Regions from separate parts of the Homo sapiens genome. Here region 1 is linked to region 2. Evidence: promoter capture Hi-C in 16 types of primary human blood cells and fetal thymus (Javierre and others, 2016). All regions are on one chromosome and are shown on one strand. The core of a region is centred on a gene start or on the middle of the fragment in contact, and the rest is flanking DNA. Distances in the headings are between cores, read along the strand shown.

What was found. Contacts are between HindIII fragments. The CHiCAGO score rates a contact against its expected background, and 5 or more counts as called.
Region 1: a contact is called between the fragment with the promoter of CAMTA1-DT here and the fragment with the promoter of RCC2 in region 2, in 1 of 17 cell types (total CD8 T cells). The highest score is 10.1, in total CD8 T cells.

The regions. Positions count from the first base shown.
Region 1 is chr1:6,781,652-6,788,226 of GRCh38, forward strand. CAMTA1-DT (CAMTA1 divergent transcript) reads right to left here and starts at 3,329. Exons shown (of 3, transcript NR_149049.1): 1 at 3,007-3,329; 2 at 2,498-2,572; 3 at 2,241-2,394. CAMTA1 (calmodulin binding transcription activator 1) reads left to right here and starts at 3,803. Exons shown (of 23, transcript NM_015215.4): 1 at 3,803-3,924. The coding sequence starts at 3,880. RefSeq lists enhancers at 2,169-2,845, 2,846-3,520 and silencers at 2,646-2,705, 2,786-2,845, 2,976-3,385, 3,726-3,885, 4,096-4,365 and 1 more. The HindIII fragment of the contact is 4,377 bases long and covers 1-3,554 here.
Region 2 is chr1:17,434,603-17,441,014 of GRCh38, forward strand. RCC2 (regulator of chromosome condensation 2) reads right to left here and starts at 5,075. Exons shown (of 13, transcript NM_018715.4): 1 at 4,943-5,075; 2 at 3,628-3,920. The coding sequence starts at 3,912. It overlaps LOC124903862 (a long non-coding RNA gene), which reads right to left. Exons shown (of 2, transcript XR_007065508.1): 2 at 5,534-6,412. RefSeq lists silencers at 3,756-3,855, 5,175-5,314. The HindIII fragment of the contact is 15,202 bases long and covers 1-5,859 here.

The sequences.
Region 1 (6,575 bases), core at 2,079-4,578, about 11 Mb before region 2:
CTCAAGAGGCTAATTGCTTGAGCCCAGGAGGTTAAAGCTGCAGTGAGCCTTGATTGCACGGCACTCCAGCCTGGGCAACAGAGTGAGACCCTATCTCAAAAGAACAACAAAAAAGAGAATAAACCCATTACATGTCAACATAAATCCTATTTTTATGAGAAATACCTACATTTTCTAAAATAAAATTAGTGGTAAGTGTGAGATTGTTTTAGTTTTGCAAATCACTTTAATATCTGACAGTAGAAGACTGCTGGATTCTTCTCTGCTTCTGAATCTTCTGCATTCAGCCTGTTGTGAGATCACGTATCTTGCAGCCTCTGGAAAACACTGCACACAGAGTGCAGTGTTGGGAGAAATTGACATATCATTGCTATAAAAATAGTTCTGAAGTCAGGTGTGGTGGCTTATGCCTGTAATCCGTGCACTTCAAGAGGCTGAGGTGGGAGGATCACTCGAGCTCAGGAGTTTGAGACCAGCCTGGGCAACAAGGTGAGACCCTGTCTCTACAAAACTTAAAAATTAGCTGGGCATGGTGGTGCATGCTTGTGGTTCTAGCTACCGGGGAGGCTGAGGTGGGAGGATTACTGCAGCCCAGGAGTTCGAGGCTACAGTGAGCTTTGATGGCACTACTGCACTCCAGCCTGGGCGACAGAGCAGGACCCTGTCTAAAAAAGTTTTGACTTTTGGGTCCCTTGAGTCTTGGGGCTCCCTCTGCTCGACCAAGGTCCCTAGAGAACCACTGTTTTGAGAACCACTGTTGTGGCCTGAGGCTAAGGTAATTTCAATGGTGATGGTGTTGAGGCCCAGGTGATGTTTGTGACCTTCTCCGGTGTTCCCATCGCACCTGTCCTGCTGCTGCTTATGTTTGTGAACCTGGCCAAGTTGGGAGTCTCTTGAAGGAAGACACTCAACTTTATTCACCTTTCTTTCAATTTAAATGAGTGTTTTAATGATAAAAGTAACATAGAGGCCAGGCGTGGTGGCTCATGCCTGTAATCCCAGCACTTTGGGAGGCTGAGGCAGGCGCATCACTGGAGGTTGGGAGTTTGAGACCACCCTGACCAACATGGAGAAACCCTGTCTCTATTAAAAATACAAAATTAGCTGAGCATGGTGGCGCATGCCTGTAATCCCAGCTACTCTGGAGGTTGAGGCAGGAGAATCGCTTGAACCCGGGAGGCAGAGGTTGCGGTGAGCCGAGATTGCGCCATTGAACTCCAGCCTGGACAACAAGAGTGAAACTCCATCTCAAAAAAACAAAACAAAAAAAAAACCAAAAAACAACAACAAAAACAGCTATATTATAGAAAATAGGCAATTAAAAAAAACTCACTTATAATCCCCCATACGTCATTTATTTGGTGTATGTTATCAGTCTATTTTTTTTTTTTTTGAGGTGGAGTCTTGCTCTTGTCACCCAAGCTGGAGTGCAGTGGTGCGATATTGGCTCACTGCAACCTCTGCCCGCTGGGTTCAAGCAATTCTCTTGCCTCAGCCTTCCAAGTAGCTGAGACCTCAGGCGCCTGCCACCTTGCCCACCTAATTTTTATATTTTTAGTGGAGACGGGGTTTTGTCATGCTGGCCAGGCTGGTCTCGAACTCCTGGCTTCAAGTGATCTGCCCACCTTGGCCTCCCAAAGTGCTAGGATTGACAGGCGTGAACCACTGCACCCGGCCTGTATCGGTCTTTTTTAAAATGCAGTTTTTTTAGCCTATCATCTCACCTCATAAATGAACACCATAATTTTGGGTATTGCCCCCTCTATCTAGCAATGGGTGATTTTCTGTTTCTGATGTCTACAACTACCATAATGTTCCACTGTGTAGATGTAACACAATTTACTAAATACCCAATATTAGCACATGTAGGATGCTCCCAATTTTTTGTTGTAGTTAAGTACAGTGATCCTGTGAAGAATACCTTCACACATACAGCTTTTCTGGCATTTAGTGTTATTTCCTTAGAACAGATTCCCAGAAGTAAGATCACTGGGTCAAAAGATGCAGACATTTTTATGGCTTTTAATACATACTGTAAAATTGCTTTTCGAAAGGAATATACTAATTTACAATGCCACCAGCACTTCTTTTAAGAATCCGTTTCTCCACACAAATCGTCAACATAGGTGCTATTAAGAATGCTAATCGATAAAATATTGTCCCGCCGTTGTTAAAATTTTGCAATTTTTGAGGCTCATAAAATTAAAGTTTCTTGAAGAATGAGTGTGTAACACAAAACATTCTTTTGGGACATCTTTATTTCTGGAAAACCTAAGACATTCTTACTTGTGAAGACCAGAAAAAGAACACATGTTGTTAGGATTGGCACAGAATTCAGTGTGACAGTCAATCTTAATGCCAGAACACTTGAACGAGGATTTTTCACTTATTTTGCTAGTTGTCACCAACAGTAGCAAAAGGAAAAATAAAATGCGGAAGAATGAAATGTTCTTACTGCAAACCGTACAAGATCACATTGAGGGGCTGGAGCTCTTACATTCAACTTTTCTTTCCTTTTTCTTCTTTTTAAACAATTTGCGATTGCAGCCTCTCCTTTTGTTTCCGGTATTACCTGCCCAGGAGCAGAATTCCTTACTTTCTCCGGAGAGAGGCCGGTCCCTGGGAGCGCTGCCCAGCCACCCGCACGCCTAGCCGCCCCGAGAGCCGCACTCGGCGGACCCGGTTCCTAGGCTCGTTCCCGGGGCACCTGGCGGGCGCCCACCTCCCGGGGGGCACGTGCTCCCGTACGCAGCGCGAGGGCAGCGGGTGCCTGGCTATTTATTAGGAAAAGCCCCGCGCGGACTCTCCGGATTGAGGAGGGTGGGAAACTCGGCTGCCCAGCGCTCCACCCGGGCGGCCGGGGCTGGCGCTTCTCTGCTTTCGGCCGGCGGCCTCATCCTGGGACAGGCAACCATGAGTCATCCGCTCCGCGGGTCACATGGGCAACGTGACCAAAATAAAGTTTCGGTATTTTAAGCCGCCAGAAAAGGGGACAACGGAGCTCACCGGGGGCGGGCACAGGAGGCGGGCGCAGGCGGGCGGCGCCGGGGCCGTGGGGACGCGGCGCCGAGGGGGCGGGGCCTGGCGGGAGGCTCGCCCCTCCCCCACGGCCGGCAGCGACGCCCGGACTCCTAGGCAGTCGGACTCCAGGGCGCGGCACCCCTGCGGACCTCAGCCCCGAGGCCCCCCGCGTCCGGCTCCCCACCGGCAGCGGCGGCGGGCTGCGGGATCCCGGAGATCCCGGCGCGTCCCCCACAGCCACCGGGACCCCACGCGCCAGCAGCGGCTTCCCCGGGAACGTCCTTCAGCCCCGGGAGCACGCGGGAAAAGCCCCAGCGTGCCAATGAGGGAGCGCCTTCCTCATGACGGTCACGCTCGGGGGCGGGGCTTCCCTTCGCCGCTCCCGAGTTCCGGGAACCCCCTTTGATTGGTCTGGACGGCCTGGGAAACACTGTAGTGACGCCCAATCAAAACGCCACGTCTCGGCCTCGAGGAAATATTCCGTGTCGGGCCCGTCCTGATTGGACAGTTCTTTCGGGTTCTGGCCACTAGGAAGCTTTGTTTAGGTCCGGAAGGCGGGCTTTCCTGGGAGTGGGTGGGGAGGGGGCGTTGATTCTTGACCAATCCTTTCAGTCCGTTGGGTGGTGACCAGCCAATGGGCCGGATGGATAGGACGCTCCTCCCGGAGAGTAGTGAGACCCCTGGTGCGGGGCGATTGGCGGCGGGAGCGATGAGTGGCAGCCGCACGGCCCAACGGGAGCTGTGCGTGGGCCGCGGGGCGGGGCCAGGGCGGGTGCGCGGCGGCGGCGGGGTGGCTGGGCCGGCGGCGGCGGCGGTACGAGGCGCGCGCTCGGGGTCCCGGTCGCGAGGAGGAGGAGGATGTGGCGCGCGGAGGGGAAATGGCTGCCGAAAACAAGCCGGAAGGTAAGAGCCGGAGCGCGAGGGGCTGGGGGGCGGCGCGGCGGGCGGCGGGACCCGGCCCCGCCGGACATCCCGGGCATCGGCGGCGCCGGGCGGGAGCGCGGGGGCGCGGCGGGCGGGCGGGCGGGCGACCCGGCCGGGGAGGGGGCCGGCGGGGTGGGGGGGCGGAGCGCGGCCGAGTCCTGAGGTGACTCGCGGGGCCGGCGGAGCGCGGCGCCCCACACCCCACCCCCGGGGGCGGGCTGGGGCCGGAGGGGGCGGGGGGCTCGCGGGGCGGGGACCGGGCCCAGCGAGGAGGAGGAGCCGGCGGAGGGCCGGCGCCTCCCCCACCCGGACCGGGCATCCCCGCCGCTCCCGAGCCCGCTGCGCGGCCCCCGCACCCCCGGCGCTGGGTCCACGGTGGGGGCCGCGGGGCGGAAAGTTTATCCGCCTCGGGTCCTCCTGGCCCCGCGCCCCACTGCTCCGGGCCGGTCCCCGTCGGGCGGCAGCGGCCGGCGCTCAGCCCTCGCCGGCCCCCTGCTCTCCGGCGGGCAGGGCCAGATGTACTCTCTCCGGCACCCTCTTCAGCCCCGTGGACACCTCCCTGAGCGGGCGGGGGGTCCCCGAGCTTCTCCCCGCCAGGGGGACCCCGTCCTGCCGAGCGTCCCTCGGCCGAAGGGCCTCGTGTGACCCCTCCCCCTTCGCTTCCCGGGAAGGGAAGGGGGCCTGCGCAGCATCCCCGCCCCTCGCAGTCGTTCACATCCTACTCTTGCCCTTGCACCCTCACAGCCAGGAGGGTGGGGTCTCCGTTTCTATGGCAAGTGAGGATCTCCACACTCCCTTGCCCTTTACCTTCCGTGACCCCGATCCTTCCTTGGCACAGGGGTCCGTCTGATCTGCTCATCTTCTTTGGATTCTTTTGGGGCCTCTGCACACTCTCCGTTGACCCTTTTTGCCAGGACAAGGGGACTCAGGCTGCCCATGTTCTTCTTTCCTCACCCAGTGGATAGTGGGGGCTTGTGCAGCTCTGAAGTCATTTCTAAATAGGAAAGCAGACACTTCTTCCAGATCATGCATACTCTTACACTTTGCTGGGTTAGGGCGAGCTCATTTCCTAAATACCCTTTGAGTTGCCCTCCTTTTCTTATGGAGACAACTGGACGTTCACCGTGCTCCTTTCGCCATTTGTGTGTCTACACTGACTTGTTCTCTCTTCTCGGAGTTCCTTGTCTGGGTGAGAGTGGGCGCCCCAATAAGATGTAGGGCAGGGCTTCCATTGTGCCTAGTGCTTGAGTGAAAAGGGGCCACACTAGTTGCTCCTGTGTCTGAGGAAGACCGGGGTATATTTTTGCCTCCACTTGACTCTTGTGTCTCAGGAGGGGGCAACCTTCATCAGTTGACACTACCTCACTGGGAAAAGGGTCATGTGGCCTTGTTTTTTGATGTTTTGATTACTGTCTTCTGTGCAGTGAGAACCAGACTTTGTCCGTCCCACACTCAAGAGTCCTTGAACCTTTCCTGGATATAAACTTCCCGATTGTTTTTTGAGAGAACTCATATCCTCCTCTGTGGCTTCTGCTTCGCAGTCAGCCATATTTAGTGAGCCTGTTACTTTGACTTTTTCTAATTTTCTCAAATTGTATTCATGTTGGCTGGGTAAGGAGAAGCCATATGCCTTTCCATTCAGAAAAGGGAGTGTAGACACCCGTGTCGCCCACATGCCATCCTGGAAGAGGTTGCTTGTGTGCTCCTTGTTGTACTAGAACCTTCCTTTGGCTCTGGTGTTGTCTCTTGTGGGATCCAGACATTTCTTTAGATCTTGTAGCTTTCAGAAGGGGGAATTTGAATGCTTTCTGTTTTTTGCTGTTCCGGTTCTGCTTTGGAGAACCAGATCATGATGCTATATTCATTTGTTTACATATACATACATGTAGGTATACACAGATGAAATCACATTCATTACATATACAGTGCACAGGAAGTTGGAAGGGTCAGATGACTAGCTCTACATTTTGGGTGCATATGGGGACCTTTATGTGTAATGATACAGATAGATATTAACGTTGTTGGTAACTCTTCAGGCTTAGAAGCAGCAGCAGAAGAATCACGGATAAATGGCCAATTCTGACTATTCTTTGGTTTGTAATGTGTACTGTACTGAATAAGCAGAACGACATCCTGCGTGTTCACCAAGTCCCTGAATGTGCGAAGCGTACAGTGCCTGCCCATACGCATCGCAACTTTGGCGGTCTGAATTTAGGGGTGGTATTCGTTGCTTGATTCTGCATAGAGTGAAAAGTTCTTGATTTCTTTACTGCAGTGTAGGGGAAAGAGATTTCGTGTGTTTGGACAAACGACAGGAGATGGGTGAGAAGAATATGTTTTCCTGTGACAGAACTAGGAACGAATGACCGTAAATATGTCCCTTTTGTATTTTGGCCATTTAAATAATTGAGAGAGGTTGTGAAATTAGCAAAATGTACCTGTGGAAAGGCCCTCGACGCTTCATGAGAGGATGGGGAACGTTATTCTTCAAGTTCTTTTCTCTTGGACAGGGGAATGATTTGAGCCCTGTCGGCTCTAGTCAGGTGCTTTGCCTCCTCAGGTCTCCCTCCCTCCCTCCCTCCCTCCCTTTCTCCCTCTTTCACGAAATTCAGAATGGCTGCTAGCCGCTG
Region 2 (6,412 bases), core at 3,825-6,324:
GGCTAGTTGGTCAGAAGCTACCAGGGACTGGACTTGCAACTGGTGTCTGGGGTGGAAGGACAGTCTTGGGGACTGAGCCCTCAAGATGAGGAAATCTACCTCCAGGTGGATAGTGTCAAGAGATGAACTGGAGGACACCCAGCCGGTGTGTGCTGCAGAACTGATTGCTTGCTTGATAGCAGGGGGAGACCTCCCTTTACGTCTAGTCACAGAAGTCTTGTGTTGGGAGGCGGGGCGTGGTGGCTCACGCCTGTAATCGCAGCACTTTGGGAGGCGGGCAAATCACGAGGTCAGGAGTTCAAGACAGCCTGGCCAACATGGTGAAACCCCATCTCTACTGAAAATACAAAAATTACCGAGCACAGTGACAGGTGCCTGTCATCTCAGCTACTCAGGAGGCTGAGGCAGGAGAGTTGCTTGAACCCAGGAGGTGGAGGCTGCAGTGAGCTGAGATCACACCACTGCACTCCAGCCTGGGAGACAGAGCAAGACTCCATCTGGGGTGGGGGGTGCGGAAGAAGTCTGGTGTTGGTTGTTGAGTGTGGCCGTGAGAGCGGAGGAAAAAAGAATTTGAATTTTTTCTTAACACCTAGGCAATGACAACGCTCATCTGCCATAAGAATGTTCTATAAAATGCACATCTTTTACTCAAGGCAATTCTGCCCCTCAACAATGTAAGTATTTGGCTCATCTTCTACAAGCCCGACACCTGCAGCTTTGGGGTCACTGAAGGCAATATGGTTTTGGACATTTCCTGGGCGGCTGCTTTCACACAGACCTCCTCCTAGCAACCCTGAGCGGGGCAAGGCATGCAAAATGCTCAGTAAAAAAGGTTCTTTCTGCAACAAGGACTGCTGTCTGCCTGTGGCAGCACACAGGGTCCCTAGGACTGCTCAACAGAGAAACAGAGACCAGAAACCTGGGGCCAGGGAGACTGGGCAGGAGGCCAACCCAGGACAAGGGGCAGAGGGCTGCCCTAGGCCTATGGAAAGGCAATGGGGCTGCATGGACCCAGCCCCGAACATGGACCAAACTCAGTAGATGCTAACAAAACTTAAACGTGGGGCACTTTGGGAGGCCAAGGTGGGTGGACCACCTGAGATCAGGAGTTCGAGACCAGCCTGGCCAACGTGGTGAAACCCCGTCTCTACTAAAAATACAAAAAATTAGCCAGGTGTGGTGGTGGGCGTCTATAATCCCAGCTACTCGGGAGGCTGAGGCAGAAGAATTGCTTGAACCCGGGAGGCGGAGATTGCAGTGAGCTGAGATCGCAACATTGCACTCCAACCTGGGCAACAACAGCTAAACTCCAGCTCAAAAAAAAAAAAAAAAAAGCAAAACTTAAATGTAGGGTGTGCACTTTCCATGAGGCATAAAGGGGCATCATATGCTGAACCCTCAGCCTCCCAGGTGCTCTGATTCTAGAACAGCACCGACAGCCCAAAGGATGGGCATCATGGGCCCCTGTTGGTTTTAAGTGGATAGAGAAAGGAAGATGTAGCTTTTAGAGTCCTGCTTATACACATATGTAAAATAATAACGTATTTATGTGTATAAACAGGAACTTAAAAGCTGCAATGGACTGCTGTTTACTCACATTAAGACTTACAAACATGCAACCCAACACAGGGCTCGCGCCTGTCATCCCAGCACTTTGGAAGGAGGCTGAGGCAGGCAGATCACTTGAGGCCAGCAGTTTGAGACCAGCCTGGCCAACATGGTAAAACCCAGCCTCTACAAAAAGTACAAAAATTATTCGGGTGTGGTGGAACACACTTGTAATCCCAGCTGCTCGAGAGGCTGATCAGCACACAAAAATCACTTGAACCTGAGAGGCGGAGGTTGCAGTGAGCTGAGATCGTGCCACTGCACTCCAGCCTGGCCATAGAGGGAGACTCTGCCTCAAAAAAAAAAGACTAACAAATGTGCCATTTCCATTGACAAAGCAGCTTCAAGCAGCACAGCTGGAGACAGAGGTGGGCCAGGGAGAGCCAGTGTCCCTCACACACTCCCTGTCTCTACCTCCTTGGGTCAATCTCAGCATGGGGTAAGGATCTTTTGCTCTGATGGCAAAATTCAGCGTTCCAACAGTCTGGAGCTGTACAGCTGATAACTGCAGTCTTGGATGTCTAAACACAATCTTGCTTTTGGAAACTCACTCAAAATAGGATACAGGAGACGCGGAAGCTCACCTGGCCTTTCTTTTTAGTTTCATCCTAACATACTGTGTTCGGAGGGCAAATGTCTGGAGTCTGGCACAGCAGACTAGACGTCAAAGGAAAACAGTTCCTGTGTTCCAGTTTCTCAATACTTTGGCCATTGTCTAGTCTAGCCTGATCCAAGACCCCGGGCAAGACCTTTTGACAGCTTTTGACGGGCTCTCCTCCACTGCCTAACATGTTAACCCTTTCACCCAGAAGGCACTTTTACAAAGCATATTCCCATGTGCAATTTGCAGGGACATCAGGAGTTACAGCATTTGGAGATCCAGTTCCATCCATGACTTTGGACAAGGCCCTCGAATTCTGTGCCCCAGTTTCCCTATCTATAAAACGGACGTAGAAAATGTGTTATTAGACACTGCCTGCGCTTCTCTGGAGGAAAGCACTCTGCTGTTAACCCTTAAACACCCTTAGGAGATGGGCACTTATGGAAGGAAAAAAACCTCTCCGGGTGTCAGGCTCTACACCCCAGGTGGAAGTTCTTGCTCTCTGGGGGTTATCTGAGAATCTGGTGAAAACTTAGACCCTCTTCTGAAAAACATATCCCACACCACACCAAACTTAAAGAAAGTTCTGTGGGGGTGGGGAGATGCTGTGGCGGCAGATGCCGGGTTCAGATCTCCGGCTCTGCAGGCTTTTTCGGGAACGTTAACTTGAGTCAGCCACGACCTTAATTAAGATTTGAGAAAACAGAAGCCCGCCCAGGACCCTAGGAGATGCTTCTTCACTTGGGGGGGCTACAACAGAGCCCTCGCGAGCATCCTGCAGCTTCGGACCACCGGCGGCAAACAAAGCCCGAGCACCGCTCAGCCGGGGGGCTTCCCCGACCTCGGGGGAGGGCTCTGCGGAGCATGCGCGGCGGCCGTCAGGCCCCGCCCCCCCCGGGCGCCGGAGCCGAGGCGGCGGGAACCTCAAAGCCCCGGCGCAAACGGCCGCTCCCCGCAGAGCGCCGGCCGCCCCCTCCCCGCGGCGCCCGGGCGCAGCGGCGGCCACGGACGTGTGGGGCCCGCTGGCCGCCCCCTCTTCCAGGCCGGGCGAACTTACCGAGGTCCCCTTTCCCGGGGCGGGGGGGGAGGGGCGCAGAGGGAGCTGTGGGGGCGGGGCCATGACCCCCTCGTGCGGGCTTCGGCCGCCCCTCCCCCGCCGCGGGCCCGGGCGCGCGCCCCAACCGCCAACCGCCCGCGCGGTGCCCGGGGTCGGGTAGGCCGCGGGCCGCGCGCCCCGTACCGAGCCCTTTTGTTGCGCGGAGGCGGAGGCAATGATTCAGCCCGCGGCCTGCGCCGGCCCGGCCGCCGGGAGGGAGCGTGACGCGAGGCGGCCCCCGGCTGGAACGCGCGCCGTGCCGCGTCGCTGAGCCCGCCGGCCCCGGCCCTGCGCCCACCCGTCTACCCTGACCCTCACTCACGACGCGCTCCTTGGTGTGCTCGGGTTCGGTGATGACCACGGCCGCGCCGCCCGCCTTGCCTGCTGTCGCCGGCCGCGCCGCGCGCTTGCCCCCGCCGGGGGCCCCGTCGAGCTCCAGGCCGTCCTCGTCGCCGCTGCTGCCGCCGCCGCTGCTGCTACTGCAGCGCTCGGGCCGCTCGCGCTTCCTGCCCGCCGGGCCGCCGCGTTTCCTGGGCCCGGCGCGGGCAGTGCCGTTGCCCGAGCTCGGCTCCTCCCAGGCCGCCGCCGCCGCCTTCTTCCTGGGCATGGTCGCGGCTGGAGGGAGACACGGGGCAGCGGCGCACAATGGACGGGTTATAAACTGCGCGGGGGGAGGGGAGCGGAGACGAGCCACCCGGCCTCCACTTCCTCCTCTGCCCTCCCCAAAGTGGCGGCCGCAGGGTGGGCGGAGAGGGGGCGAGTTGGGAGAGGAAATCGCGCCCCTCCCTGGCCCCGGCGCGGCTCCTTCGGGGAATCCCGCAGGGCAGCCGGGAGCCCCAGAGGCAATCCCCTGGAGGGAGAATTGAGACCCCCGGCCTATCCGTAAGTTAGGTTTGCCCACAAAGCATCACAGTTGCAACCTCGCCCCCCAAAAGTAAAGGGAAAGTAAAACCAGCCTCCAGTCCCCTAGATTTTCATTAAAGAAGGCTTCGGGACACTTCCAGGATTCCCCCTTGGCACCTGGGTGGTAAGGGAGCCCCTGCTCCCCGGCTACCCCACCTGCTGCTTTTGTCTCCGCAGTCTCCCCCCAAACCCACTCATGGCATTTAATGCAACGCTCTCCCCCACCCCGCATCAGCCCTGGACCCCCGTTCGGCCCCAGCTCAGGGGTGCCGACCTCGGGCTCTAGTTAGCCGAATCCCTACGGCGGACTGCCCCCGGCGACGGGGGAAGAGCCCGAAGAAAGCTGGACCCCAGCCCCAAACACCTGCTCGCACAGACACGAAAAATAAAAACTTTAATGGTGCCCAACTCTCTCCCAGCCCCCTTGCCGGCCGTGCGGCCCGGCCGGTCTCCGATTCGACTGCAAAGTGTCCAGGGCCGCCGCCAGCTCCCCGGCGTCCCTGCGCTCTCCCCTGTCTGCTTTTTTTTTTTTTTTTAATTGATTTTGAACAATGGGATCTCTGTCTGTCTCCGATTAAACCACGTGGATCCGCCTTCCTTCCTCTTTTTATTCCTTCAATCACCCAGCCCCCCTCCCCCAGGTTTTTTTTTAACCTTTTCTCTTTAAAAAAAGGAAAAAAAAAAAAACTTTCCCAGACCCCACAAACTGATCACTGTCGATTTTCAGACCCTACCTGGTTGGAGTGATGAGAAACCGGAGAGAAAAAAGGAAGAGAAGCAACTAAAAGACGGATCGGAGGGCTTTTTTTTTTCCGGCCCAGACGAGGGCTCCAGCCCACTCACCAGATACACTTAAAATGTAAATACGAGCTTCCAGAACAAATGCTACAACACAAAACAGAAACACATGTGCGGCCGCGCGGCAAGCGAGCGCGCGGCGGGGCGGGAGGCGCGGGGCGCGGGGCGCGCGCGCCCCCTGCCGGCCGGCGGACCCGTTGCCGGCGCCCCCGCCCCGCCCGGCCTGGCCCTGCCCTGCCCACCCGAGCCTGCGCCGCGCGCCGCGCGCCTCGCCGCCCGCCTCGGCTCCGCTGCTCCTGCGCCTTTCGCGGGCCCGCGAGCGCGCTTTGGGCCTTCCACGCAGTGCGGCCTGCGCGTCAGGGACTTCTTTGCGGCTTAGGAGGATGTTGGATTGTTTTTCCTGGGCACGTCTAGACAGGTCACATGAGGACACTCGCTGGAAAATAGTTACTTCGCTCACGCAGCAGCCAACAAGGGACGTGCCCTAATTGAGTGATTGGAATGAAAGATGAATACAATTTGAATAATTTTTTCCTGTGCAGAGAGAAGCTGAGTTTTATTTGCCTGTGGATGTGTCCTCAGTATGTAACAAGGTGCTGTGACACGGAAGAATCACATAAAGGTTTGCTGTATTAGTGAATTAATTCATAATTAATTTGAGGGCCGTGGAGGCACTGGAAGCTGGCTTTGAGGGGAACTTTTTCATTTTTTGCCAAATATTTACTGAGCCCCCGGTACATGCAAGACCCACAGTGCCCGGGGCTGCAGAGCCAGTGAACAAGGTTTCCACCCCAGTGGAACGCACAGCCTAACGGAAAGACAGATCAGTAAACAAGTAATTACAACAGTGGTAAGCTTTACAAAGTGATGCCTGTGTAGGAACATTATGGCGAGGGGATTTATCCTAGTCCAGGGCCAGGGAAGGCATTCAGGTGGAAAGTTATGCTGAACAACTTAAAGGATGAATAAGACCCGATGAAAGGGGGCAGGAAAAGTATTCCAGGCCAGGTGGAGTGAACGGGACGCTCCACATTTCGAGATCTTGAGAGACACCTCCTGGGAGGGAAGCTGTCTGGTGGGGCTGGGGTGAGAAGAGCCAAGAGGCTGGGTTCTGAGGAGGTAGGCAGGGGTGCGAGGGCCTGCATAGACCCTAGTGAACCGCAGTGAGGCTTGATCTCGTTCGCGTGTCCTGGGACGGGTGAAAAAAGCCTTGCTTGCTTCCTACCGGTCTCCACCCTCCACCTCTCCACCCCACTTCCATTACGATCTCACCGTCACTTGCTCTCCTCTCAAAGCTTTTCTCCTGCTTCTTTTTTCCTGAGGCGTACCGCACAAGGAAGTTCCTTCTTCAGGCAACTTCTTGAAAACGCATAAAGTTCTAGGATTTTTGTGATTCATTCATTCAT